Regions from separate parts of the Homo sapiens genome. Here regions 1, 2 and 3 are each linked to region 4. Evidence: promoter capture Hi-C in human tissues and cell types (Jung and others, 2019). All regions are on one chromosome and are shown on one strand. The core of a region is centred on a gene start or on the middle of the fragment in contact, and the rest is flanking DNA. Distances in the headings are between cores, read along the strand shown.

The links. Contacts are between HindIII fragments. The study calls those that stand out against the background at their distance.
Region 1: a contact is called between a fragment that was not itself captured here and the fragment with the promoter of CORO6 in region 4, in 1 of the 25 tissues and cell types used here (dorsolateral prefrontal cortex).
Region 2: a fragment that was not itself captured here is called in contact with the fragment with the promoter of CORO6 in region 4 in 2 of the 25 tissues and cell types used here (dorsolateral prefrontal cortex and hippocampus).
Region 3: a contact is called between a fragment that was not itself captured here and the fragment with the promoter of CORO6 in region 4, in 8 of the 25 tissues and cell types used here (H1 embryonic stem cells, bladder, dorsolateral prefrontal cortex and 5 more).

What each region holds. Positions count from the first base shown.
Region 1 is chr17:29,401,498-29,408,110 of GRCh38, forward strand. All of the region lies in intron 1 of TAOK1 (TAO kinase 1), which reads left to right. Among named protein-coding and RNA genes, the nearest start is that of MIR4523, 14 kb to the left of the region's middle. The HindIII fragment of the contact is 3,210 bases long and covers 1,280-4,489 here.
Region 2 is chr17:29,840,674-29,847,775 of GRCh38, forward strand. All of the region lies in intron 2 of SSH2 (slingshot protein phosphatase 2), which reads right to left. Among named protein-coding and RNA genes, the nearest start is that of SSH2, 86 kb to the right of the region's middle. The HindIII fragment of the contact is 4,094 bases long and covers 927-5,020 here.
Region 3 is chr17:29,786,840-29,793,244 of GRCh38, forward strand. All of the region lies in intron 3 of SSH2 (slingshot protein phosphatase 2), which reads right to left. Among named protein-coding and RNA genes, the nearest start is that of SSH2, 140 kb to the right of the region's middle. The HindIII fragment of the contact is 9,040 bases long and covers 1-6,405 here.
Region 4 is chr17:29,619,742-29,626,673 of GRCh38, forward strand. It overlaps CORO6 (coronin 6), which reads right to left and starts at 3,171. Exons shown (of 11, transcript NM_032854.4): 1 at 2,947-3,171; 2 at 1,483-1,743; 3 at 1-32. The coding sequence starts at 1,680. It overlaps SSH2 (slingshot protein phosphatase 2), which reads right to left. Exons shown (of 16, transcript NM_001282129.2): 16 at 6,197-6,932. RefSeq lists enhancers at 570-864, 3,772-4,971 and a silencer at 2,835-2,984. The HindIII fragment of the contact is 11,130 bases long and covers 1-5,793 here.

The sequences.
Region 1 (6,613 bases), core at 1,635-4,134, 220 kb before region 4:
AGTAGCTCTTGAGAACTCACTATCAACTAGAACAGCAAGGGGGAAATCCACCCCAATGATCCAATCATTTCCACCAGGTCCCTCCCCCAACTTTGGAGATTACAATTTAACATGAGATTTGGGTAGGGACACAGAGCCAAACCATATCACTTTCTTTTTCTTCTCTTTTTTTTTTTGAGACAGGGTTTTACTCTGTTGGGAGGCTGGAGTGCAGTGGGGTGATCATGGCTTGCTGAAACCTCTGCCTCTTGGGCTCAAGCAATCCTCCCACCTCAGCCTCCTGAGTAGCTGTGCCACCACGCCTGGCTAATTTTTGTACTTTTTGTTCTTTTTGTTTGAGACGGGGTTTCGCCATGTTGGCCAGGCTGGTCTTGACTCCTGGCCTCAGGTGATCTGCCCACCTTGGCCTCCCAAAGTGCTAGAATTATAAGCGTGAGCCACTGTGCCTGAACTAAAATTTCTTTTTTTACCTCATCCCTTTTACTTCTAATCTTCTGTCTCTGAAGTATGCTTGTTTTAGTTTGCTTTTTCCTTTTTCTTTCAACAACTCTCCTTCAATCTCTACTGATTCATCTGTAGTCTATTTAGTCGTTATATTGGGTATATTTACCTTTCCTAGGTTTCAAAGCTTAGGAGATAGCAAGGACTTTGCCTAAAAGGTCCTGGGCAGGGTACCAGTAGTTTTGGATAATCATGGTAACTTCTGAGGTTTTTGTATTAAGGAACGTGTTATCAGATATCTAATGTCACACACTATGTGTGAGTGCAGTTTCTCATGAATTGCAGAATTTTAAAAAAAGAAGACTTTCTATTTAATTTTTTTAAGACGGTCTCAGTCCCCTTCCCTATGCTAGAGTCCAGTGGCACACAATGATGGCTCACTGTGCCTCTACTTCCCGGGCTCAGGTGATCCTTTTACCTCAGCCTACCAAGTAGCTGAGACTACAGTCATGCGCCACCATACCTGACTAATTCTTTTGTATTTTTTGTAGAGATTAGGTTTTGTCACATTGCCCAAGCTGGTCTCGAACTCCTGAGCTCAAGCAATCTGCCTGCCTCAGCCTCCGAAAGTGCTGGGATTACAGGTGTGAGCCACCATGCCTGGTTGAAAACTTTTTATTTGGAGGATATTAAGAAAATATCTTTTATTTTTATTTTATTTGGGGACATATATAGATTTGATTTAATTGAAATACGTCTGTTCATAAAATTATTATGTGACTAATTAAGTATATTAAGTATATTTTAAAAATGCCAGGCCAGACGTGATGGGTCATGTCTTTAATCCTAGCACTTTGGGAGGCCGAGGTGGGTGGATCACTTGAGGTCACGAGTTCAAAACCAGCCTGGCCAACATGCTGAAACCCTGTCTCTACTAAAAATACAAAAAAATTAGGCCCGGCGCAGTGGCTTACGCCTGTAAGCCCAGCACTTTGGGAGGCCGAAGTGGGCAGATCACAAGGTCAAGAGATCAAGACAGAGCAAAACTTAGTCTCAAAAAAAAAAAAACAAAATTAGCCGTGCATGGTGGCGGGCACCTGCAATCCCAGCTACTAGGGAGCCTGAGGCAGGAGAACTGCTTCAACCTGGGAGGTGGAGGTTGCAGTGAGCCAAGATTGTGCCATTGCACTCCAGCCTGGGTGACAGGGCAAGATTTTGTCTCAAAAAAAAAAAAAAAAAAAAAAAAATCAGTGTGCTGCAATGTGTTACATCTAACCATAATATTTATGTTTTAGTTGATGTTTTTAATTCACTCATGGTAGTAGTTACAAACCTCTAGTTTGTATTTTGGATTGATTTGTTACAATTTATTCCCATTGAGGCTGAGAAAGAGGTTTCAGAAAAGGTTGATGAACAGCATTACTAAACAAGGTCAAGGTTTTTCCGTTTTTAGACTTGGGGAATTTAGGGTTACTGAAAATTGGAAAAGCTTTGTCTTTTTGCCAAAACCATCCATATCCTTGATTGTACTTGATAAGGAAACTTTGCTCTTCCTTGTTGTACAGAAACTTTGTATAGTATATGTTGTTTTATTTAATATATAGTATTTAAGTAATCTCCTGCTGCATAAATGGTAGATGATGATGATGTTTTATAGGGCTCATTACTTGATAGGAGTATGGTATTTCAGTTGGTTTTATTTACTGGAATTAGAGTTTTGAGTCCCAGAGGGGCAATATAATGTGCTCACTTTCAGATTCTTTTTTGTTTTTTGTGTTTCTTTTCAGACAGGGTCTTGCTCTGTCACCCAGGCTGGAGTGTAGTGGCACAATCACAGCTCACTGCAGCCCTGACCTCTTACACCGAAGCAGTCCTCATACGTCAGCCTCCCAAAGTGCTGGGATTACAGGTGTGAGCCACCATGCCTGGCCTAGATTCTTTACTTTGACATGTCGTTATTAGTGATAATGATTTTTTAATTCTCTAGAAAAGTACAAATAATTTGAAAATGGAGTAATTAAAAGATCATTTTATCTTCAGCTTAGGTAGTGAAAAAGTATTTTTGTGTTTTATGTGTGAATGTCTAGTTCTATAAAATAATGCCATTAATCTTTAATCAAGAATAAAAAAGTTGGCTGGGCATGTAAAAAATAAAACAGTGTTGAGATATGAAATATTTCTGTGTGTGTGTGGGGGGGGATTTTGTTTTGTTTTGTTTTGTTTTTGAGACAGGGTCTTACTCTTTTAAGAACCTGTTGTAGGACTCCAGACTGGAGTGCAGTGGTAGGATCACAGCTCACTGCAGTCTTGACCTCCTGGGCTCAAGTGATCCTCCTGCCTCAGCCCCACAAGTAGCTAGGACTACAGCCCTGTGCTACCACACCCAGCGAATTTTTTGTATTTTTAGTAGAGACGGCTTCACCGTGTTGCCCAGGCTGGTCTTGGATTGCTGGACTCAAGTGATCCACCCAGCTCAATCTCCCAAGGTGTCAGGATTACAGGCATGAGCCACCACACCTGGCCTGAAATATTTGCTAAAATAAGTAAAATAACTATGATATAAAAACTTTTGGCTAGGCATGATATCTTCCGCCTGTAATCCCAGCACTTTGGGAGACTGAGACAAGGGGATCGCTTGAGCCCAGGAACTCAAGACCAGCCTGGCAACATAGTAAGGCCTCATCTCTACTAAAAATAAAAAATTAGCCAAGTACGGTGGCATGTGCCTGTGGTCCCAGCTACTCAGGAGGCTGAGGCAGGAGGATTGCTGGAACCTAGGAGGATGGAGTTACAGTGAGCCATGGTTGTGCTACTGCATTCCAGCTTGGGCAACAGTGAGACCCTGTGTCTAAATAAATAAATAGGTAAGTAAAAACTGTTTAATTTTTTGACAATATGTTAAAATACACTACCATTCTGTATTTTAACATAAATTTTATTAGATTCAAGTTAGGTGGAATGATAGCCAAGATTTTAGTATCCATTATTTTACTCTATTTTATTCAAATGGCACTATGATATGAGTTCAAAAAATTTTTGAAACAGTGTCCTTTGTTTTGAGATGGAGTTTTGCTCTTGTTGCCCAGGCTGGAGCGCAATGGCATGATCTCGGCTCACCGCAACCTCCACCTCCCAGGTTCAAGTGATTCTCCTGCCTCAGCCTCCCAAGTAGCTGAGATTACAGGCATGTGCCACCAGGCCCAGCTTATTTTTGTATATATATATTTTTAGTAGAGATGGGGTTTCACCATGTTGGTCAGGCTAGTCTCAAACTCGTGACCTCAGGTGATACACCCGCCTTGGCCTCCCAGAGTGCTGGGATTACAGGCGTGAGCCACCTTGCCCTGCTGAAACAGTGTCCTTTTAAAAATGCTTTCAGAGCACAGTCATTAAGCCAGTTGGTTTACTCATGCTGCAGTAAATTTGGAAATAAATTTCAGTTTAATACTCTTTTGAGATATTCACATAGTTATAATTTGTAATTTGTTGGTATGTACTATGAAAACACCAAGTCAAGATAGTGATTGATGGAATTTGCTTTTAAAGACCACAAGTTTAGGCCAGGAGTGGTGGCTCATGCCTGTAATCCCAGCATTTTGGGAGGCCGAGGTGGGCGGATCACCTGAGGTCAGGAGTTTGAGACCAGCCTGGCCAATATGGTGAAACCCCGTCTCTACTAAAAATGCAAAAATTAGCTGGGTGTGGTGGCTCTCGCCTGTAATCCCAGCTACTCGGGAGGCAGAGGTAGGAGAATTGCTTGAACCTGGGAGGCGGAGTTTGCAGTGAGCCGACATCGAACCTCTCTACTCCAGCCTGTGAGACAGAGTGAGACTCCATCTCAGAAAAAAAAAGACAACCAGTTTAGCCAGTAAGTTATGTAGCTTTCATATCAAAGTAAGATTCAGCAATGACATACGTATTTCTTATATTTTTTGAGTGCAGCATTCTAGGCAGTGTGGTTATTAAAATAGGTTCAGTAATGACACATCTGTATTTATTAATACATTTTTTTGGTGTGTTATTTTGTAGATACTGTGCCAGTATACAGAAATCAGTAAGACTTGATCCCTCCCATTTTGTAGTTTAGTAGGGATACAGGCTTGCAAGTAAATACATACAATAGTGTAGTGCAGGGTTTCCCAACCGTGGTAGTATTGACATTTTGGGTAGGATAATTCATTGTTGGGGGGATCTGTGCTATGCATTATAGCATATTTTGCAGCATCACTGGCTTTTACCCATTAGATGCCAGTAGCGTCACCCCTGGTTGTGATGATCAAAAAATGTTTCAGGTATTACCAAATGTCCCCTAGGGAGCAAAATCACCTGATTGAGAACCATTTATTTAACTGTTATACAGGTAGAGTTAAGGGGTGTTTAGGAGTAGTGACTCCTGAGGGAGTGAGATTTTATATGGGTCTTGAAAAAAAAATAAAAGTACAAAGGGTATTATATACCTGAGAGCATGAATGATCAATATTGAAGAGGGTGATTACTGATCATATGTGGCTATAGGTTATTTATGTGATTTGGGATGGGTATTTGGTAAAATGAAGCTGAAAAGGTACTTTTGGGCCATATCTTTTTTCTTTTCTTTTTTCTTTTTTGAGACTGGATCTCACTGTTTTGCCCAGACTGAAGTGCAATGGCACAATCACGGCTCACTGTAGCCTTGCTTGACCTCCCTGGCCCAAGCAGTCCTCCCACCTCAGGTTCCCAAGCAGCTGAGACCACAGGAGTGCACTACCCACCCCCCCAACTAAGCAGCTGGGAGACTACTGGCATACACCACCATGGCCAGCTAATTTTTGTAGTGACAGGGTTTCTCCATGTTGCCTAGGCTGGTCTTGAACTCCCGGGCTAAAGTGATCCTCACACCTCGGCCTCCCAAAGTACTGGCATTACAGGTGTGAGCTACCATGCTTAGCCATTTTTCTTTTTTTAAAACTGTTTGAGGTATAATTAATGCAGCAAAGTGCATAAATATGAAGTGTAAGCCTGTTGAATTTTTACAGATGTGTATGTTCATGTAACCATCACAAAGAACAAGATAGAGAACATTCCTAGTACCTCTTACAGTTCTTTCTTTTTTTAGATACAGGGTCTTGCTCTTTTGCCCAGGCAGGAGGGTAGTGGTGCCATCATAGCTCACTTCAGTCTTGAACTCCTGGGCTCAAGTGATCTTCCCATCTTAGCCTCCTGAGGAACTAGGACTGACTATAGGCACATACAGGAATGGGGACTTGCTGTGTTGTGTAGGCTGGTCTTGAACTCCTGGCCTTAAGCCACTCTCCTGCTTTGGCCTCCCAAAGTGCTGGGATTACAGGCATGAGACACCATGTCTGACTGTCTTCCTTCTTAAAATTTGTATTTTACTGGTTGTTCTTTCTTACTGCTTTTAACAGTAGGTGTCTCTCAACACAATGCTCTTCTCTGTCTCCCTCTCTTCCTGCTGCCTCCCTAACTCCATCCTTTATACCCAATTGCCTGACGGAGATAATCTTTTTTTATTTTTATATTTTTTTGAGACAGAGTCTCACTCTGTCACCCAGGCTGGAGTGCAGGGGCACAATCATGGCTCACTGCAACCTTGACCTCCCCAAGTTCAGGTGATCCTCCCCCCTCAGCCTCCCTAGTACCTGGGACTACAGGTGCCCACCATTACACCTGGCTAATTTTTTTATTTTTTGTAGAGATGGGGTTTCGTCATGTTCCCCAGGCTGGTCTCGAACTCCTGGGCTCAAGCAGTCCGCCTGCCTTGGCCTCCCAAAGTGCTGGGATTACAGGCATGAGCCACAATGCCCAACTGAGGTATCTTACTCTTTTTGAAGACACGTTGGGGTGAACATATCTAAATTGAACTCATCTTCTTAATCTTTTGCAAAAGTTTCTCCTTATTTACCTACCTATTTCAATGTTAATAACATGTTTTGTTTAGTTTTGTTTCTGAGGCAGAGTCTGGCTCTGTCACCCAGGCTGCTGGAGTGCAGTGGCATGCGCTGCAGCCTCGAACTCTTGGGCTTAAGTGATCCTCTTGCCTCAGCCTCCCAAATAGCTGGAACTGCAGGAGCATGCTGCCATTCATTCCTGACCAATGTTTTGATTTTTTGTAGAGATTTTCTAGATTCTGTGCCAGGATACAGAAATGAGTCAGACTTGATCCTTCCCTAGC
Region 2 (7,102 bases), core at 1,724-4,223, 220 kb after region 4:
GCAGACAACAGTGGCACTGCCTTGACTCTGTTGAAGAGCTGGTGACATGAGGGAATCCTGCATCTGCCCTGCTCTCTACTTGGCACAGATAATGCGCCAGGCCCTCTAAGCACTTTACATAAGTTATCTCATTTAATTCTAACAACTCCATGGGATAGGTACTATTATTATTCCCATTTTATAGATAGGGGAAATGAGGCTTAGAGTGAAGTCACAGTCAGTAAGTGGTGAAGCTGGGCTCTGACCCAGATTGTCTGAACCTTCAACTTGAGCTCTTTAACTACTACATGATGCTGAGCCCTCTCTCTGATTCTGAAAGTCTGAGAGAGCCCTCTAAAAAGCATAGCCTGATAGCCACATCAAAATCACATGGTCAAGAAGTCAGGAAAGTGGTTATTCCTGGTGTATGATGGCTGGGAGGGTGAGTCAGTAGTGACTGAAAGGAGCAAGGAGGGATTGGCAAAGGGGGAAATAGTACTGAGGAGTTGTAATATTCCATTTCCTGATCTAGGTACAGGTTACTTACTTCATGATTGACCTGTGTTTGTGAAAACATCAGTTTGTGAAAATTCATTGTTATACATAAAAGCACAAGATAAGTACACTTTTCTGTATGTATATTTTACTTCAGTAAAAGTATAAAACACAAAGTATAAAGTGATCTTTAATTATTTTTTCTTTACTCTAGCTCCCTAGCAATGTTGACACAGGAAGAATAAGTCTTTATACCCTTTATACCTTATGGAAAAGACATGGAAAACTTTACCCTTCACTGACTTAAATTTATACTAGATTTGGATTATCTCATTTCAGTATCTTGCTTTTAACAGAAGACTAGCCAAGGAATTTCACTGAATAGAAAGAATGTAAGTTAATTGTGTTGTACCTGAGTAATCAAATGCATACAGCCAACTCTTAAAAAATTGTAGTCTATCTCACATTTTATCCTGCTGCTCAAGGAATAGATGTTACAATGTTACAAATGTTGCAGATTAGATTTCTAATATGGAGGTGCAAAAATTAGCATAGCTAGAGTTAAACCAGTGTTCTTTTTCTGTTTTTTCTTTTCTTGAGACAGGGTCTCATTCTGTCACCCAGGCTGGAGTGCAGTGGCATAGTCCTGGCTCACTACAGCCTCAACCTTCTGGGCTCAAGTGATCGTCCCATCTCTGCTTCCCGAGTAGCTGGGACTATAGGAGTACACCACCCCCTTGGCTAATTTTTTTTTTTTTTTTTTTTTTGTAGAGACAGAGTTTTGCTTTGTTGCCCAGGCTGGTCTTGAATTCCTGAGCTTAAGCGATCCTCCCGCCTCAGCCTCCCAAAGTGCTGGGATTACAGGTGTGCACCACTGTCCCCAGCCCAAACCAGTGTTCTTAACCCTTGATTCATATTAGAATAATCCTGGAAGCATTTAAAAAAATACCAATACCTGGGCCCTACTCACAGAGATCCTGATTTAACTGGAGGAGACCCTGTTATTAATTTAAAAGATCATCACAGCCAGGCGCAGTGGCTCATGCCTATAACCCCAGCACTCTGGGAGGCCGAGGCAGGTGGGTCACCTGAGGTCAGGAGTTCAAGACCAGCCTGGCTAACATGACGAAACCCTGTCTCTACTAAAAATACAAAAATTAGCTGAGTGTCATGGCAGGCACCTATAATCCCAGATACTTGGGAGGCTGAGGCAGGAGCATCTCTTGAACCTGGGAGGCGCAGGTTGCAGTGAGCCGAGATCACGCCACTGCACTCCAGCCTGGGCGACAGAGTGAGACTCAGTGTCAAAAAAAAAAAAAAAAAAGATCATCAGGTGATTCTAATGGGCAGCCACAATGAGAACCACTGAGTTAAATAAGGCTAATTTCAAAAATAGCCTTTGTACCCAAGATTACTACAAATCTTATTTCTCCTCAAATGTCACTCAAGAGCGTAAGATTTTTAAAAGAAAATTATTTCTCATAATAATTATTCTGGGATAAAATCATTGAGCTATGCTTTCTTACATCTTAACCTGGAACAAAATAAGTTTAACATCACATTCCTATTAGTGTAAATTTGCATCAGACCCCTTCCAAAGTAAAAAATAAGGATATTGTTCATGGTAAAACTATGTTTGCCACTAGCAACACTTTTTTTATCTTTTTTCTGACGATGGGCCCTAACAATCTCTCTACAATGCAGCAGAGGTGATGCAGAAACAATTCAAGTAATCCTAAACTCCTGTGGGGCAGCTGTTTGCTATTGGCCAACTGGCCATTTGAAACTCATAATAAAACTCATCTTCTTAGCACCAAATTTCCCTTTTTCCCCCCTTTTTCTATTTGTGTATGTTGGCTACTGAAAGGTGTTCTGCAAATGAGTCTGAAAAAATAAACAGAAAATACACATGGTACAGATAGCAGAAACGAAGAGAGTAAATACAAATTATCAGGAATGACAGGACGTGCTTGCTGTAGGCTTAAACACCATCCCCACCTTCCAGCTAACCAGTTTGTTGTTGTATCTGGATGTTCATCCACTACTATCTTGTTTTTGCTTATAATCTCTAGAGATTTACAAAAGTAGATTTAATTACTATAGCAGGCTGGGCGCGGTGGCTCACACTTGTAATTCCAACACTTTGGGAGGCTGAGGTGGGCAGATCACTTAAGGTCAGGAGTTCGAGACCAGCCTGGCCAATATGGCGAAACCCCATCTCCACTACAAATAAAAAATAATTGTTAAAAATAAAAAAAATTAGCCAGGCATGGGTGGTGCATGCCTGTAGTCCCAGCTACTCAAGAGACTGAGGCATGAGAATCGCTTGAATCCAGGAGGTAGAGGCTGCAGTGAACTGAGATCGTGCCACTGCACTCCAGCCTGGGTGACAGAGGGAGACTCAGTCTCAAGAAAAAAAAAAAAAAATTACTATAGCAGTTTCCCCCTCCTAAGTGTAGTTTTCCTTTCTGAGCTAACCATTGTTTTCATCGTTCCAATACACTACATTCCAAAACTTAAAACATACAAGAACAGGATATCTCAGAAGAACCCTGAGAATTGAAGTCCTTTCTATCTTCAATCTATAAGGACTGGCTACTCCACATCAGGCCTTGAATTAGGGTTTACCCTAATGTTGATAACTTTTAAAAATTCTTAAATCCTTCATCTTGAACTTACTATTAGGCTAAATCTTCTCTCTCTCTCAAGCCATTTTTCCACTCCCCAAATGACTCCATGTTAAAAATCCCATAGAAGCTGATTATCAACAAGGATATTGTATTCTGAGACACTGTCCTTCCCTAGAAGAGAATGCAGATCTATAGTCTAAAAATGTAAAAATATTCTAAACCAAATAATTCTTACATTTTAGACTTTCTTTGCATCTGCCTTTTCCACATTTGATTCTAGGGGGTGGCTTTTTCTTTTCTTTAATAACACAAAAGGCTAACATCTCTTCCTTTCACTGGGCTATTCAAACATAAAAGCTTTTTTCTGATTGCACAGAATATAATATTATATCCTTCAAGAATATAACAAACCAAGCAAAGGAATGAAACAGACCATAAAAATAGTATGACTATTCTATATATGACCTTCTGCCTGTTTGGTTGGGTAGGGGTTGGGGTGAGAAGACCAGGGAAATGAGATAAATAAGTTTTATTTTTAGGAAATAAACTAATATAACAAATATTTTCCTGACCACCAGGCTGGGGAAGAAATAGCCCTACAATGGTAAATGAATCCAGTTGTTCCTAGGAGACCACCCATAAGCACAATAATTGGAATCCCAGCTCATCCAGAGCTTCTTCCTCCTTTTAGGTAGGATAGCAGTGGGTACAGGAGAGGGAAATGAAGAGAAGCCTCAGGAGTCTCAGTGCCTGTTGCAGTCACTAGCATCCCAACCTGCTCTAGTCACTGCCTACATTCCTTCTTATCTGAAGCCAAGGTGAAACTCCTGCAGCTAAAGCCAGTATCTTCTTTCTCTGTGACTTCTTCCAGTCACACTGTTACCTTTCTCTGGGGGCAGACAGATCCTCTCCCCATTATGGAGACCTCTAACAAACCTGTGCACAGTAGAGGGAGCAAGTAGCTGCTTCTATCTATTATCTGGTTTCCTGGAGACTGAGTGGGATCAGAAAAGGGGCAGGGGCCTCTCTGCACTCCTGCCTTCTCTTCCAGGAAAGCCCCAAGAGATCTAAGGCAGCCAGCCCTCCAGCCAAATTGGCCTCCAGCCAAATTTATTTCCACTTATCCAGATTTCTTCTCTTCTTCCCACATACTGCATGTAATGATTTTCTCCTTTCCTTTTCAGGGCTTTCCACGAATAGCCATAAAACTAATTTGTGAAGTGTAGATTATACTTTCTCTAAGGGCCCCTACTCCCCTGGGCCCAGTGATTTGCACATGAGTCAATCAATACTTGGTGAATGAATGAATTATGCAGAAGCAAATGAATGAATAAAACTAACCAAAGTTCATACTTCTGTTATCCCAAAATTGAAGAGAAAGTTCTTCGACGATTGACTTTATCTTCTACTCTTCTTCTTTACATCAGTATTTCTACTTCAAATACTTATCAAGATCCCATACCACTTCCTTTGCAGAAAACTAAGTAATGGAGATTTCAATCATTTTGCTCTGCAAATAACTGCCCCCCACCCCACCCCCAAGGTTAAGGCTTCAAATTACAAAGAAGCTCTTCAATTCCATTTGACATGGGGGTGGGAACAGGGAAGTGAGAAAAGGGGGAAAAAAAGGTGTGGGAAATACTCCCTGAAAAAACAAAACAGGAGGAGGATCTAACACCTTTAAAAAGCCAGCCAAGTACATGAAACAACTTTTGCCTCTTGAGGAAAAGACGACAACAAATCTGACTTAAATGAATGAAAGGCTTGGCAATAAAATAAAGCAACCCAGAGTAATCTATAAATACATATACCCAACTAATTGTTTCTCTTTATTTTTTTTGGAGACAGAGTCTGACTCTGCTGTCCAGGCTGGAGTGCAATGGCATATCCTTCCGCCTTAGCCTCCCAAGTAGCTAGGACTACAAGTATGTGCCACCATGCCCGGCTAATTGTTTTATTTTCTGTAGAGACAGGGTCTCGCTGTATTTCCCAGGCTGCTCTTGAACTCCTGGGCTCAAGTGATCCTTTTGCCTTGGCCTCCGAAAGTGTTGGGATTACAGGCATGACCCACCGTGCCTGGCCCCAACTAATTGTTTCTAAGGGAGAAAAACCATTAAAACTAAAGTTACCTTTTCCCCACGCGTCCAACTTCATGAAAATATTCTTCATGTAGATTCCCATGCACTAGTCTCTTTGAGACAAAATCAGTCGAAATAATATGCCAGTATAATAAGTCCAGAGGACTCCACTGCAAACTGAACAATTTTTTTTTTTTTTTTGAGATGGAGTCTTGCTCTGTTGCCCAGGCTGGAGTGCAGTGGTGCAATCTTGGCTCACTGCAACCTCCACCTTCTGGGTTCAAGCAATTCTCCTGCCTTGGCCTCCCAAGTAGCTGGGACTACAGGCATGCACCACCACGCCAGACTTTTGTATTTTTAGTAGAGACGGGGTTTCACCATGTTGGCCAGGCTTTCTCAAACACTTGACCTCAAGTGATCTGCACACCTCAGCCTCCCAAAGAGCTGGGATTACAGGCATGAGCCACTGTGCCCAGTCTGAACAAAATAAATCTTATAGGATACCATATAAGGAGACTGGTACATATTCCATCAATGAGGTTGCCCACTGGTGATGAGCTCATGATGGCTATCAGCTGAGATTTCATGTCAGCACTGCTCCTGCTTATCACACAACACTGGACAAAGATTATAACCTTTCACCCTCAGTTTGTCATCTGCAAAATACTGATAATAAGTGTTCACATGGATTTATCAGTTAACGTTTGCAAGCACTAGGAAAATGAGCACCACTCCAGCTATTAATGAATCACAATAACTTAACTCATGCCATTCCAGATTCATCAACACTGAATGAAATGCAGTTGTGTAAATAAATACGTGAATGAGGTCCTGAAATGGTAACTGCATTCACTGTGACATGAAGATGAGGAAGCCAGCCTAAGTGCAGGTAGTAATATGGTGATATACTTGAGACACATCTTACTTCAAGAGATAGTTTACATTAGTGAAACTTCAACAATATGTATGGAGTGCTACTATGAGCAATAAATATCCTGATACAGACAATTCATTTTTTATGGTCAAGGTTTGTAGAACCTAGTTTTGGTGACAGCTACCTGTTGGAAGAGATCAAGTCAAGTAAAATTATAGAAAACAATCAAATCTGTAAAAAACAATACAGTTTTGAAATGTGTTATGATTCGGTTTATATAAACTCTACTTTTTAAAATTTGTGAAGTAGGATTCATTCTATACCAAGACACAGAAAAAAAATGTCCAAGTGGGAAAAAGGTTTGCTATGTTTCTAAACTTCAGTTTGATACAAGGCCATCTTGAACCTCTCATAAAATAGGGGGGAAAAATTCCAAGAGCGGCCCAGTCTCCTATGGGTATAACAGTCCAAAAATATGCTTGAATAAAGTCTTTCCTCACAGTGCCATCCCTAATCTGCACAAGCTTCACAGTAAAGGGCAGTACACCTTAAAAAAAATCAGGTTGTCACCAAGTCTTCAACTTAGAGCCAGTGAGAAGCAAATAGATAAAAATGTCAGGCATCTGGGCTGAAAGGTGAAGCAGAGGGCAGAGACCAGGGCCTCTCACAAAGAGCTGGTCCTCTCTATTTCTAATTTTCATTAATACAACTGGGACGGTGTCTGCATTTTTGTAGCCGACCCCCTCAGGTTTTTTTGAGGGAGGGTGGTGCTCAATAGGAGACAGTTATCTAAATGACAGTTGGAGAGCTCATTAGTTTTCCTGACCCACAACTCTTCCCTTCACTTCCCTCCAGAATACTTCCAACACCCCTTTAAGGTAGAACAATGTGTATGAACTAATAAGGCAAGAGTCCAGCAGGACTTGTTTTCTGGTCACAACACTGCTGAACAAAGTAGGATCTGTTCCAGATGGGATAAAGCAAAGAAACTGGCCAAAACCAGCAGACTGTGACAAGGGCAATCCCTGGCTGCCCTCATTGCTCAT
Region 3 (6,405 bases), core at 963-3,462, 170 kb after region 4:
AGCTACTTGGGAGGCTCAAGTGGGACTGAGCCCATTACTGTATCGCTGCACTCCCGCCTGTGTGGCAGAGCAAGACCCTGTCTCAATCAATCAATCACAAAAAGGGGCTAGTATGGCATAAATACATTGTTTCTTAATTGTGGTAAAATAAACATAAAAATTTCCATCTTAACTACTTTTAAGTGTACAGTTCACTGGCATTAAGTACGTTCACAATGTTGTGCAACCACCACCACTATCCATTTCTAGAACTTTTTTCATCTTCCAAAACTGAAGCTCCGTACCCACTAGGCAATAACTTCCCACTCCATCCATCCCCCAGTCACCATTATTCTGTCCGCATGAATTTGATTATTCTAGGTATCTCATGTAAGTGGAATCATACAGTATTTGACTTTTTGTGATTGGCTTATTTCACTTAGCTTAATGTCCTCATTTTTACCCACGTTGTGGCATGTCAGAACTTATTTCCTTTTTAAAGGCTGAACAATATTCCACTGTACATATAATACCTCATTTTGTTTATCCATTCATCGTTGATGAACACTTGGGTTGCTTCCATCTCTTGGCTATTGTGAATAATGTTGCTATGAACACGGGTGTATGAATCTCTTAAGACCCTGCTTTCAATTCTTTTAGGTATCTACCCAGGAGTCCAGAAGTGGAATTGCTGGATCATATGATCATATTCTATTTTTAATTTTTTGAAGAATCACCATACTATTTTCCATTGCAGCTATGCCATTTTACATTCCCACCAATAGTGCACAAGGCTTCCAATTTCTCCATATCCTCACCAACGCTTTATGTTGATAGTGGCCATCCTAATGGGTATGAGGTAGTATCTCACCGTGGTTTCAATTTGCATTTCCTTAATGATTAGTGATTTTGATTTTTTTTTTTTTTTTAAGAGACAGGGTCTTGTACTGTTACCCAGGCTGGAGTGCAGTGGAACCTTCTTAGCTCACCACAGCCTTTAATTCCTGGACTCAAGCAGTCTTCCCACCTCAACATTCTGAGTAGCTGGGACAGGTGTGTGACACCACACCTGGCTAAATTTTTTTATCTTTTGTAGAGATGGGGTCTTGCCATGTTTCCCAGGCTGGTCTCAAACTCCTGGGCTCAAGCAATCCTTCCTTCTCAGCCTCCCAAGTGCTGGAATTACAGGCATGAGTCACTGCATTCGGCCTTGAGCATCTTTTCATATGCTTATTGCTTATTTGTTTATCTTCTTTGGAGAAATGTCTATTCAAGTTCTTTGCTTATTTTTTAATTGGGTTGTATGATGGTTAATTTTATGTGTCAACCATCAACCTGACTGGGTCACAGGATGTCCAGTATTTGGTTAAATATTATTCTCGGCTTATCTGTGAGGGTGTTTCTGGATAATATTAACCTTTGAATCAGTAGACTGGGTAAAGCAGACTGTCCTCTCCAGTGTGGGTAGTCCTCACTCAATCTATTGAAGGCCTGAATAGAACAAAAGGCTGAATAAGGGAGAAGTTCCTCCTTCTGCCTTTGAGCAAGGACATTGGTCTTCTATTTTCGGACTCAGACTTGGACTCAGCAAATGGTGGACTGAGCCACCATTGGCTCTCCTAGTTCTTTAAGCCTTTGGACTTGGACTGGAACTATACCATTAGTTCTCCTGGGTTTCCAGCCTACAGATCTTGGGACTTCTCAGCCTCAATAATGTAAACCATTTACTTAGAATCAATTTCTTTCTTTTCTTTCTTTCTTTCTCTCTCTTTTTTCTTTCTTTCCCTCACTCTCTCCCTCCCTTCCTCCCTTCCTCCCTTCCTCCCTCCCTCTCTCCCTCTCTCTATATATATCTATCTATCTCTATGAGATACCCTTTTTGGTTCTATTTCTCTAAAGAACCCTGACTAATACAGATATTGGTCCTGAGAAATGGGGTGCTGAGGCTTTGAAACCAGGTAATGGGTAGAAGAGTTTTGAAGTGCATGCTAGAAAAAGCCAAGATTGCCATGAAGGGATTGCTAAAGGCAATTCTGGTGAGTGCTCAGAAAGGATAGAGGAGATCTGGAGAAAATGCTTCCATCTTCTTAGAGAATACATAAAGAACCACGAACAGAATATTTGTAGAAATATGGATGGAAAAGCCCTTTCTGACGAAGGCTCAGATGGAAACAAGAAACATGTTAGTGGACAATGGAGAAAAGGCAATCCTTGTTATAAAGTGGCAAAGAACTTGGGCTGGATTGTGTTTGTGTTCTAGTATTTTGTGGAAGGTAGAACTTGCAACAGTGGAATTGGACATTCAACTACAGTGGTTTCTAAGCAAAGTGGTGAAGGAGTGGTTTGGCTCCTTCTGGCTGCTATAATAAAATGCAAAAAGAGAGAAATGAATTGCAGAAGGAATAGTTAAGCAAAAGGGAACCAGAACTTACTTGGAACATTCTCTGCCTGTGCATATTGCAAAAAATGAGAAAGCATGTTTGGAAGGGAACACCAACAGTGTGGCTGACTGACCATATAAGGAGGGTAGTGTTGGTGTGAACCACAGGCCTAATCAGCCATCTCAATAGAAGCCAGGATAGAGAAGGGATTATGCAAACAGAAATACTGCCAGCTAGGACTAAGGGAAACAGAGAAAATGAAATGGAATAAAGGAAGACTGTGACTACGCATTATCCTTCAAGAAAGGGGAAGAAGGATCCCCCCAAAGGCAATTCAGTGATGATCATCAGGGCTTCTACTCTCATCACACCCACCATGGGTGGCGATCAGGGAGCAGGCTGTCTTCACTTCAGTTTCAAAGGCTAGGACCACTGGCAAGCAGAGTTGTGTGGGCAGGGCTCTTGCAGAGAGCCCTGTGGATGGCACTCCACTGAGCTGAAGGGGCAGGGCCACCACATGAAGCAATGAGGGTGACGCTGCCACTCAAGTGCATCTGGAGAGCAGAGCATCAAACCAAGAAGGATTATTTTCAAGTCTTAAGACCTAAGGGGATTTGCCTTGCTAAGTTTTAAACTTATTTGGGACCTATCAGTCCTACTTTCCTTCTGATTTCTACCTTTTGAGATAGGAAATCTATCCTATGCTTACCTCACCATGGTATTTTGGAAGTGCTTAATTTACCTGGTTTCACAGGTTCACAGCTGGAGAGGAATGTTGGCTCAGAATGAATCATTCCTGGTCTTACTTGTATCTGATTTAGATGATATAAAACTTTGGACTTTAGGCTTCAGAACTGATGCTGGAATGTTTTGTCTTTTAAAGATGTTGAGATGGAATGAATATATTTTGTGTATGAGAACATGAATTTTGTGGGTTCCCGGGCAAAATATTATGGACTTAATGCTTGTGCCCCCTGCTAATTCATATGTTGAAGCCCTACCCTCGAAAGTGAGGCGAGGCCTTTGGGAGGTAGTTAGGGTTAGATGAGGTCATGATGGTGAGCCCCCCATGACGTGTCCTTAAAAGAATAGGAAGAGACCAGAACGTGCTCTCTCTTTCTTTCTCCCCACCAAGTAAGAACACTGAGAGAAGGTGGCTGTCTGCAAGCCCGGAAGAACACCCTCACATGAACATTCTGGCACCTTGATCTTAGATTTCCCAGCCTCCAGGACTGTGAGAAATAAATGTCTGTTGTTTCAGCCACCCAGTCTAGGTATTTTGTTATAGTGGACTGACTAGGGTTTTGTTTTTATTGAGCTGTAGTTCTTTATATCCACATTCTGGATTTAACCCCTTATGATTTGCAAATATTTTCTTCTGTTCCATGGGTTGCCTTTTCACTCTGTTGATAGTGTCTTTTGATGCACAGAAGTTTGAAATTTTGATGTAGTCTAATTTATCTATTTTTGTAGTTATGGTTGTTATCTGTGAACAAAGCCATCATAGTTTGGTCTAATTGTACTGAAAGATTTTTTTTTTTTTTTTTGAGACAGAGTCTTGCTCTATTGCCCAGGCTGGATTGCAGTGGCGCAATCTCAGCTCACTGCAACCTCTGCCTCCCGAGTTCCAGTGATTCTCCTGCCTCAGCCTCCTGAGTAGCTGGGATTACAGGCTCATGCCACCACACCCAGCTAATTTTTGTATTTTTAGTAGAGACAGGATTTCGCCATGTTGGCCAGGCTGGTCTCAAACTCCTGACCTCAGGTGATCCACCCACATGGCCTCCCAAAGTGCTGGGATTACAGGTGTGAGCCACTGCACCTGGTCTGAAAGATTATTTTTATGACTTTGTCAATAAATGGCATTTGGTTAAGATTTATTATTATTATTATTATTAATTTTTGAGACGGAGTCTTGCTCTGCTGCCCAGGCTGGCGTGCAGTGGCTTGATCTCGGCTCACTGCAACCTCCACCTCCAGGATTCAACCAATTCTCCTGCCTCAGACACCTGAGTAGCTGGACTACAGGCATGCACCACCACACCCGGCTAATTTTTTGTATTTTTAGCAGAGATGGGGTTTCACCATGTTGGCCAGGTTGCTCTTGAACTCCTGACCTCATGTGATCCGTCTGCCTCAGCCTCCCAAAATGCTGGGATTACAGGCATGAGCCACTGCCCCTGGCAAAAATAACAGATTATTAATGCAATGTCTTCTTTGTTACCTGGAACTGGCCTTTAGTTTTAATGATATGCTGTTTACTATTTAATTTCCTACTACAAGCTACATTTGAACCCACAAACTGACAAGATGAGTTCAGGCATGCTTAATGAAATGATTCAATGCTGGTTTATTCTGTGGTGAGTGATGGAGAACTCTGAACAATCTGTAGCAGTCAAACATACAAAAATCAATCTCTTACATACCGTATAGCTACAAGGGGCATTCAACTGGCAGGTAAGATAAGTTTCTTTGCTTCGAGTCGGACTAAAGCCTTTAGATTTAGAAATAGCTTGGCAAACACACTAAATGTAAGACATTATAACAGATTAGCAAATTTTGATTTTTTAATAGTTGCTACTAGGTTTTTTTCATTTCTTATTTTTATAAGTAATCCTCTTGTGAATAGAAGAAGCCTGCAAAAACCCTCTGCTGGTCAAAGTGACAAAGTATTGCCAAAAACTTAAAAACAGGTCTTTATGATTCTTCTTCTTCCTCTTTTTTTTTTTTTTTTTTTTAGTAAGACAGAGTCTCACTTTGTTGCCCAGACTGGAGTGCAGTTGTGTGGTCTCTGCTCACTGCAACCTCCACCTCCTGGGTTCAAGTGATTTTTCTGCCTCAGCCTCCTGAGTAGCTGGGATTACAGGCATGCACCACCATGCCTGGCTAATTTTTTTTTGTATTTTTATTAAAGATGGGGTTTTACCAGGTTGGCCAGGCTGTTCTCAGACTCTTGGCCTACCAAAGTGCTGGGATTACAGGTGTGAGCCACCGCGCCTGGCCTTTATAGTTCTTAATGGCTTGACAATTCAGTACTGTGAATAAGAGAATGACTTCCATTGCCTCATCATTAGGTAATTTTTTGGAACAACATTATTCCAGTGGATATTGAGTCAATATATAAAGCTTGAAATTGACTCAGAGAGCTTTAAATCTGACCTTCTAGAAAATATAAGAATTATTTTTTCATTCTAATGGGAATATGATTACGATGCCTCTGGTACACATTCAGCTAAAATTTATTTTTGGTTTCTACCTCCTTAGCCCTATGCAAAAGAAGGACACTTCTCTTTGCTAAGAGACACGAGAAATTAAGCCTTAAGCCCACAATTTATGTGTTAACAAATCAGGAAAAAAACTACCGATAATCTCAGTTACTGATGAAAAGGAACTATTTTTATATTAAGTTGTAGTTTACAAGAAGGAGGTATATATCAACAAACACCTGATAATAATAATAATAATTTTTATTATTTTTTGTTTGTTCTTGTTTTTGAGACGGAGTCTCGCTCTGTAGCCCAAGCTGGAGTGCAGTGGCGCGATCTCGGCTCACTGCAAGCTCCGCCTCCCGTGTTCACGCCATTCTCCTGCCTCAGCCTCCTGAGTAGCTGGGACTACAGGCACCCGCCACCATGCCCAGCTTATTTTTTGTATTTAGTGGAGACAGGGTTTCACCGTGTTAGCCAGGATGGTCTTGATCTCCTGACCTCGTGATCCGCCTGCCTCGGCTTCCCAAAGTGCTGGGATTACAGGCGTGAGCCACCGCGCCCGGCCTGATAATTATTAAAGCAGCATTCCCTTTAGCCAGCTTCTTCACAATGAGCATGCTTATTGATCCTTTCTCTGTATCATCTAGAATGGCTCATTTGAGTTCAGAGGATACAAGTTTGGTAACATTGAAATGACCATCTAGAACTTACCAGGCCTGTTTCTTGTGGGAGGGAGTTACTTTTAAAAACCCTTAAAGGAGATAAAATAAATGTTATTTTATACTTCCTAGATTTCTCTCACAATTGTTTTCTTTTAATGTTACTGGGTACTGGCA
Region 4 (6,932 bases), core at 1,921-4,420:
ACCAGTGGGTAGTTCTTATCCACTCGCCCTGTCTGAGGGGTTGGAGAAGAAGATGTGGGGCTACTCTCCTGTGTGTTTTTTGGGGAGTGGGTAGCAGATCTGCTTACATCTCGATTCCTTATTACCTATTTTCTCTTTGCAGATCCCTCTCTGCACTTCTAACCCCATCCAGTCCACTTCCTGCACTTTACTGAAGGCAGAGTTGAAATAATTTAATATTAGGGACTGTGACACAGAGAGGTAAGATGGCCTCATCAAGGACACACAACAAGATACTTGTAGAGCTGAGATTTGAACTTTCCAGCCCAGTGCTCTTCCAAAGACACCTACTTGGAGGAGGCTGTTCTTCAGCCTGTTCTCCTATTGAAGTGTCTGTGGGAATCTCCTGGTGGAAGAGGTCAAGGTGAGATAATAGTGTAGTGCTGGACAGCCCTTTCCTGGCCTCCCTTGGCAGATCTCTTCCTTGTGAACCACTTTTACCTTGGAACCACAAGCAGCAAGCAGTCCTGGTGCCTACTATCCCCAAATGGGAGCTGGGGGCCCATCTATTTTTTGGTCTTCACAGGCTGCTTGTGGGGGTTCTGAGACCTCTGCAGGGGCAGACACTGGTCCAGACCAGGCAGCGGGGGAGAGGGTGGCTATGTGGTACTGAAAGAGCAGACATATTGGGGGAGGAGGCAGCTCCGGCTGAAATTTGAGCCCTGGGGCTGTGTCCCAGGATGATGTCTGCATTGTCTGGGGTGAGTCACTGGCTTTTTCAGGCCTCTTCCTGACCCCGCCACCTGTGGAGCCTACCCTAACAAGGTGTAGGGGCCAGAATCCAGGTCAAGGTCATACCTTGGGGGTTGGGGGAGAGTCATCCTTGGGATGTGGATGGTCAAGGGGCTTAAGGTTATGAAGCTAACGTGGTAGTCATTGCCTGGTCCCCATCCTGAGGGTAGGGAGGGCTCTGGCTTTATGTGTCATGTCCCCCTTCCTTTCCGTTCCCTTTCTTTCTACTTCACTGCAAGTGTCCTTGGAGGTAACCAGGGACTCTTTGGATAGAGCCTGACCCTGTCCTCAGTTTGCTGCTCTGGGATGTGACTTAATCAAATGGTCATCTTGGGCTAGGGAGGAGGTTCTCCACACCCAAAACATGAGGGGATGCGGCATTAGGAGAGGCAGTGATGGAATCTGGCCAGGCTTGGCTGTGCTGTGTCCCAACCATCTCCATCACCCGGCTCCCCTCCTGGTCCCTGCTGGGAATGGGGTGGTGCATGGAGAGGTGGGAGGGCTAGGGAGTGGGAGTAAGCCACCCTGATGTTAGGGTGGGGTGGGGTGGCCTCCCCTCTGGTCCTTGAGGGCTTGGGGAATAGGGAGGAGCCAATCCACACAGATGCTTCTCCTGACTATGGAATGGAACTAGGTGAGAACAAAGGCTCAGGAGTTCCCAGGGGCCCCAGCTAGTGTCCTCCCACTTGCTTCCTTTCCCTGATCCCTCACCTTGGCCAGAGGCAGGACGATGAAGGCACCCCCGCCTCCAGCCTCCACAATAATGGCCAGGAATTTGGGGTTGACGGCACAGAAGGAGCTGTCCCATGTGACCTTGGACACACGGATGTCCTCGTAGGCCTGGTCGGCCTTTGCTGCCTGCCCAAACACATGGCGGAACTTGCTTTGCCGAACCACACGTCTGCTCATAGCTGCAGGCAGAGAGGTAGGATCTCAGTGCCCAGAAATGCCTTTGGTCCTTAGTCCTGTGAGCTGCGGGAGGGAGGAGGAGTGGAGGGGTGGCTGATGAGAAGGGTTATGTGGTCAGGAGTCAGGTATAAATCCATATAGTGTCTGGTCCTAGAAGCAGGGAGCTTTCTTCAAGGTGGTCAAAGTATGGGAAAGTTATTTTGCTGTGTAAAATGCTGTTTAATGTAAGTGGCTAGGATTTGGGGCCTGAATTCTCCACAGAGACCCAGGCTGAGGGGATTGTGGAGCCTAACAGACTGAAAGCTTTCTGGACGTTGGAATGTTTTTGGGAGGAGCCTCAATGCCACACTGCCTGCACCCCCCGCCCCCACCACCGCCAGCCTTGATGAGCATCTCTTCACGGACGTGGTTGTAGCTCCCAGAGGCACCCTGTCCAGAAGCAGAAGACTTGACCATTGGATCTTGGCTTAAAGCCAGGTATGGGGCCAAGACTGCAGCCACCACAGGATACCGAACTCGCATCTCTGGAATAGTTCAGGCAGATGGGGTTTTGCCTTTTCCTAAAATTTTGCCAAGGGGGAAGTTCCTCCTGTCCACCAATCTGAGTCCTTTCTGCTACTGTTTTCATCCCATGCCTTGTGGGGGGACGGGTGGCAGCACAGAGTGAGGTGGATCCCTCTTCTCCCACTCCTTTCTGCACTGGCTTCTCCAGGAAGCCCTGATCATGGTCTTCTGGCTTTTGCCTACCATAGGCTTGTCCGGTTTCTCCTCTGGGTCCTCTGCCCTGGTTGGGCCTTCTTCCTAGTGAACTCTTCTAGGGGTGGGGTCTTCAACCCCATCCTCCACCCCTGCCCCCGCCACGGCCAAGCCAGATTTGCAGGGGTGGGGAGGGTGAGGTGCCTTTTCTCCAGCTAGGGTCTCCCTAGAGGACACACTGAGCACTCCCAAAGCCCCAGCCAGTGGCTCCTGCCCCACCCCAGCCCCAGCATCCGTGTGCCCTTCAAGGCGCGTCTGCGGCCCCGAGCCTGAGGCCCGGCCTCCCTGCACCCTTCTTCAGCCTGCTGCCCTGACACTGCGTTCTTGCGAGACGAGGTGTCTGCGCCCTCCGGGAGCGCTGGCTGCTGTCCGGCCAAATATAGACACCACGTCCTCCCCGCCCGAAACCGAATTTGGCGGCGCGGGGGGAGGAGGCGCAGACCTCTGCCCCTCAGGGACCCCGCCCGCTCCGCTGGCTGCGGTGACGGCCGGGTGTGGGGGGCTGGGTACCTGGTCCTGAGCGGGCTGCGGGGCGCTCACGCTGCGAATCCTCTGCGGAAGGGGCCCGAGTGCGTAGGGGGCCGAGGAAGGCTTCAGGGCGAAGGAGCCACCTCTCCGGGTGTCTGTAGTATCTGGGACCCGGGTGTCCAGCTCCGCACTCTGGCCGATCCTGCGGCTCTCTAGAGCCCGGCGCCGCTGCAGCCCCAGCTGCCGCTGCCATCAACCTAAGAGGGCGGGGCTAGCATAGGGGCGGGGCCAGAGCCCAAGTTGCCCCGCCCCCTCCAGCGGCGGGAAAGTCGAGCGACCCCGACTCCCCTCCCAGCTTCCGCCGGCCTCGGAGAACCATCGAAAATAAATGTGCAGCTGTGTGCTAGGTGCGCACGCTGCTTCCCTCCCTCCATGACTCCCGGGTAGGCTGGGGAGGCTCGGGTTCGCAGACCTAGAGCAGGACGCTTGGAGAGGGAACGGGCGAGGGGGCGTGCGCCCCTAGAGCGGGCAGCCGAGGGAGACCAGGTGCCTCCACCCGCATTCCAGCCTCAATCGCGCTCCCAATTTAGCTGTCCCGATCGGCCGGGACTGCGGGACTGCACTTCCAGGCCTCCCTGGGGGAAAGAGGCCCTAGAGAATGAGGACCCAGGCTGATCCTGATGTAGGGCAAGTGAGAGGGCACCCGACACAGGGTTGTGAATGTTAGTTATTGTTATGAATGGCAATAGCGATCATTTGAGAAACCTAAAATGCTGGCTGTGTGCTAGGCATTTCACCCCATTAGATGAGATTCCATGGAGCAGGGCAGGAAGCAGCTGAAAGAACAAGGGGAGGACCGAGTGTAAAGTGAACCCACCTTGACACTCCCTCCCCTCCCAGATGCAGGGGGAAGAGGCTAGCACCGGTCTCTAGTCACATTTTAGGGGTCAGAGAAGCCAACTCAGAGGCCAGACTCCTAATGTTTTCTGGGCCTTGTTTGAATTGGCGCCCGACTGTGTTCCAGGTAAGCTTCCCCCGTCTCCCCCAATATTCACAGAACTGAATGTTGACCGAGGTCAAGGAGATTAAAGATAACCTGATCAAAATACAGCCAGTGAAGACCAGCCAGTCCCGTAGCTCCAGTCTACCCAGTGTCTGCACATTGCCTGGATTTCTTCCCTTGGATCATAAGGGCATCTGGGGCCAGTTATTACTTCCCACCCTCCAGGGCACACCTGGGAGTGAGTGAATGGAACACAGCCTTCTGAAGGGCAGGAACCAGCACTGGGGAGGAAAGGGAGGGAAGGTGGTAGAAACCATGAAGGGCCCACGAGGCTCCTTTGTTTCTCAGGAAGAGTCCAGGTGGCTTGTAGGGACAGAATCAAATCAAGAGTCAGTGGCTTGTAGGGGAACAGAATAAAAAACTGTTACGAGTGCTCCAGAAATAACTCCTGGCGTAGGGGTGCTGGGGCAGGGTATGAGGGTATGTGAGTCATCTCTCTTTTACCTAAAGATTCCAGGCACATGATTAGGAGGAAAATACCTGAGTGACTCAGTTGCTCCTTTACAACAATAACCCATGCTTATGTGCTAGGCACTGGCACTAAGGGCTTTATACGTATTAATTTCATACTCTTAACAATCCTCTAGGCTGGTCGCGGGTGGCTAACGCCTGTAATCCCAGCACTTTGGGAGGCTGAGGCAGGTGGATCACCTGAGGTCAGGAGTTCGAGACCAGCCTGGCCAACATGGCAAAACCCCATCTCTACTAAAAATACAAAAATTTGCCAGGTGTGGTGATGCACACCTGTAATCCCAGCTACTCAGGAGGCTGAGACACGAGAATTGCTTGAACCTAGGAGGCAGAGGTTGCAGTGAGCTGAGATCATGCCACTGCCCTCCAGCCTGGGTGACAGAATGAGACTCTGTCTCAAATAAAACACACGCACAAAAAACCAAAAAACAATCCTCTAAGGTGGGTACTGTTGTTATCCCTATTTAACAGTTGAGGAAATGGAGCCACAAAGAGGTTAGGTGGCTTACCCATCACAACCTCAACTGGTAGTTGATGTAGCTATGATTCTTACCCACGTGGTCTGGCATCTGGTTCTTGCTTTTCAGCAGCATGCATTTCTGTCTCTCCCTGAAGGACAGTGCCACTTTATCTCACAAGTGCTGAGCTAAAACGTAACTGAGAGTTTATACTGTGTGGCACAGAGGAAAGGATGCCTGGAATGAATTAAAAAACTGGTTCCAGTCCTGGCTCAATCGCCATATTTTTACAGCTCTCTGAACAGGATTGGGTCAGATTCTTTCCAACTCTGCACCACTCCTTAGCAGAGTAGGGATTTTATGTGCTGCCTCCTCTGAAGTGGCATCTCCCCTACCCCCACCCTCCTTCTCTTTAAAGAGAACAGGAGACTCCCTTCTAGAGGGAAGCGCTTGGGACTAGGAAGCAGGAATCCTTCAATGCGTGCTCCCTTCAGTTCCATCATCTAGGAAGAGCAGTGCTTTCTGGGTACAGGGATTCAGATATTTGCTTGGGCCTGGCGTAGCTCAGCCCTGCCCTCTAGCCTTCTTCTGGCTGCCAAGGCCTGACAGAGCTGTGAGTGGGCAGAGTTAAGGCAGGAAGAACCAATCAGGGAGAGAAGCTACTTGGGCTTCGTGCCTCCCTTTTGAACTGTTAGCTCTGAACGGCAATCCATAGAAGACAGCCATGGATTTCATCTTTTAGGAAGCCATTTTCTGGATGAGGTAGCTCGCAACTTAGCCATGATTTGGTCCATCTGCTTTGGCTAGAAAACCAAGACTGAACTTATCTAGATTGGTCAGGGATCCCAGGGATCCTTAGAATATTTTGTGAAAGACCTTACCTTCACCGTCATGCACTCCAGCTAAAGACCAGCACTGTGCCCCTCCCACTTGATATGGATGATTCAGAATGAAGCAGGCTGACTTTAGTTCAAGGCAGTGATTTTTTTTTTTGAGGGGGGCGGGGACTTCAAATTTTGTTAGCAATTGGGAACTGGAAACTGAGCTCTCCCTAGATGGTAGTCCTGCCTTGTATGTGATGAATGGCACCACTAAATATCTCATGATGTTCATGTCCCATTTCTAGACATTTTTCAGTGGGCTGAGGTGTTTCATTTATTTCTGGGGACTCAGCTCTCTCTTCAGGGTGACATGACTGGGATCAATCATTGAAAACTACTGGTGTTCACTGTGTTTCCTCTTCTGACTCTCCCACCTTCTCCAGCACCTCCCTCCTTTGTTGCATCTGATGAAGTACACGTTTCATCTTCAAAATAAAAATTTATTCAATCTGTAACAAGAACATTGAATCTGCACATTTGCGCACAAGTTCACATTTAAAAACAGTGGAGCATATCTGTAATAAAAAAATCTATGATACAAGTGGAACATCCCAACCACCAGGAAGATTAAGGAAGGAGATGAGACCACTCTATATTCTGCTTCAAATGCCTCAAAAATGTCCCAGAGATTCCAGGGAGCACCTGCTTTAATAAAACATGAGCATAAAAGTTTGGGGTGGCTTGGGGCAAAGGTAACAGTCAGAGGAGAGTCTTCTGGACTTGTTTTCCATGTTAGAACAAGTCCTACAAAACAAAGCAGAAAGAAAAAAAAAAAAAAAGAAAAGTAAAGGCACCTTTAGATATGCCAAGCAAACCAAAATCCAACAGAACATAAAAATCAAACATTTCCCTGTGGGCTTACTGATTGGGAAGCACTTCAGGGCCAGTTACCCAGTTTTTAGTTTGGGTATTAGCTCTGCATGTGTACACAGGACGCTGCCACCAGCATTGCTTTGAGGACACAGACGGCAGCACCAGTCAAATGCCTCTTAAGGGATCTTCAAGGTGATTAAGGATGATTCCAGTTTAGAAATCCTATCCTAGACCTCTGGGGCACTGAGAAAATGAGGCTGGTTATCTTCTCATAGCAGGAGCCAGGGCCAGTCACCCTCCATTTCCAGGCTGGAAAAGTACAGAAGCACCTTGCAATAGCTC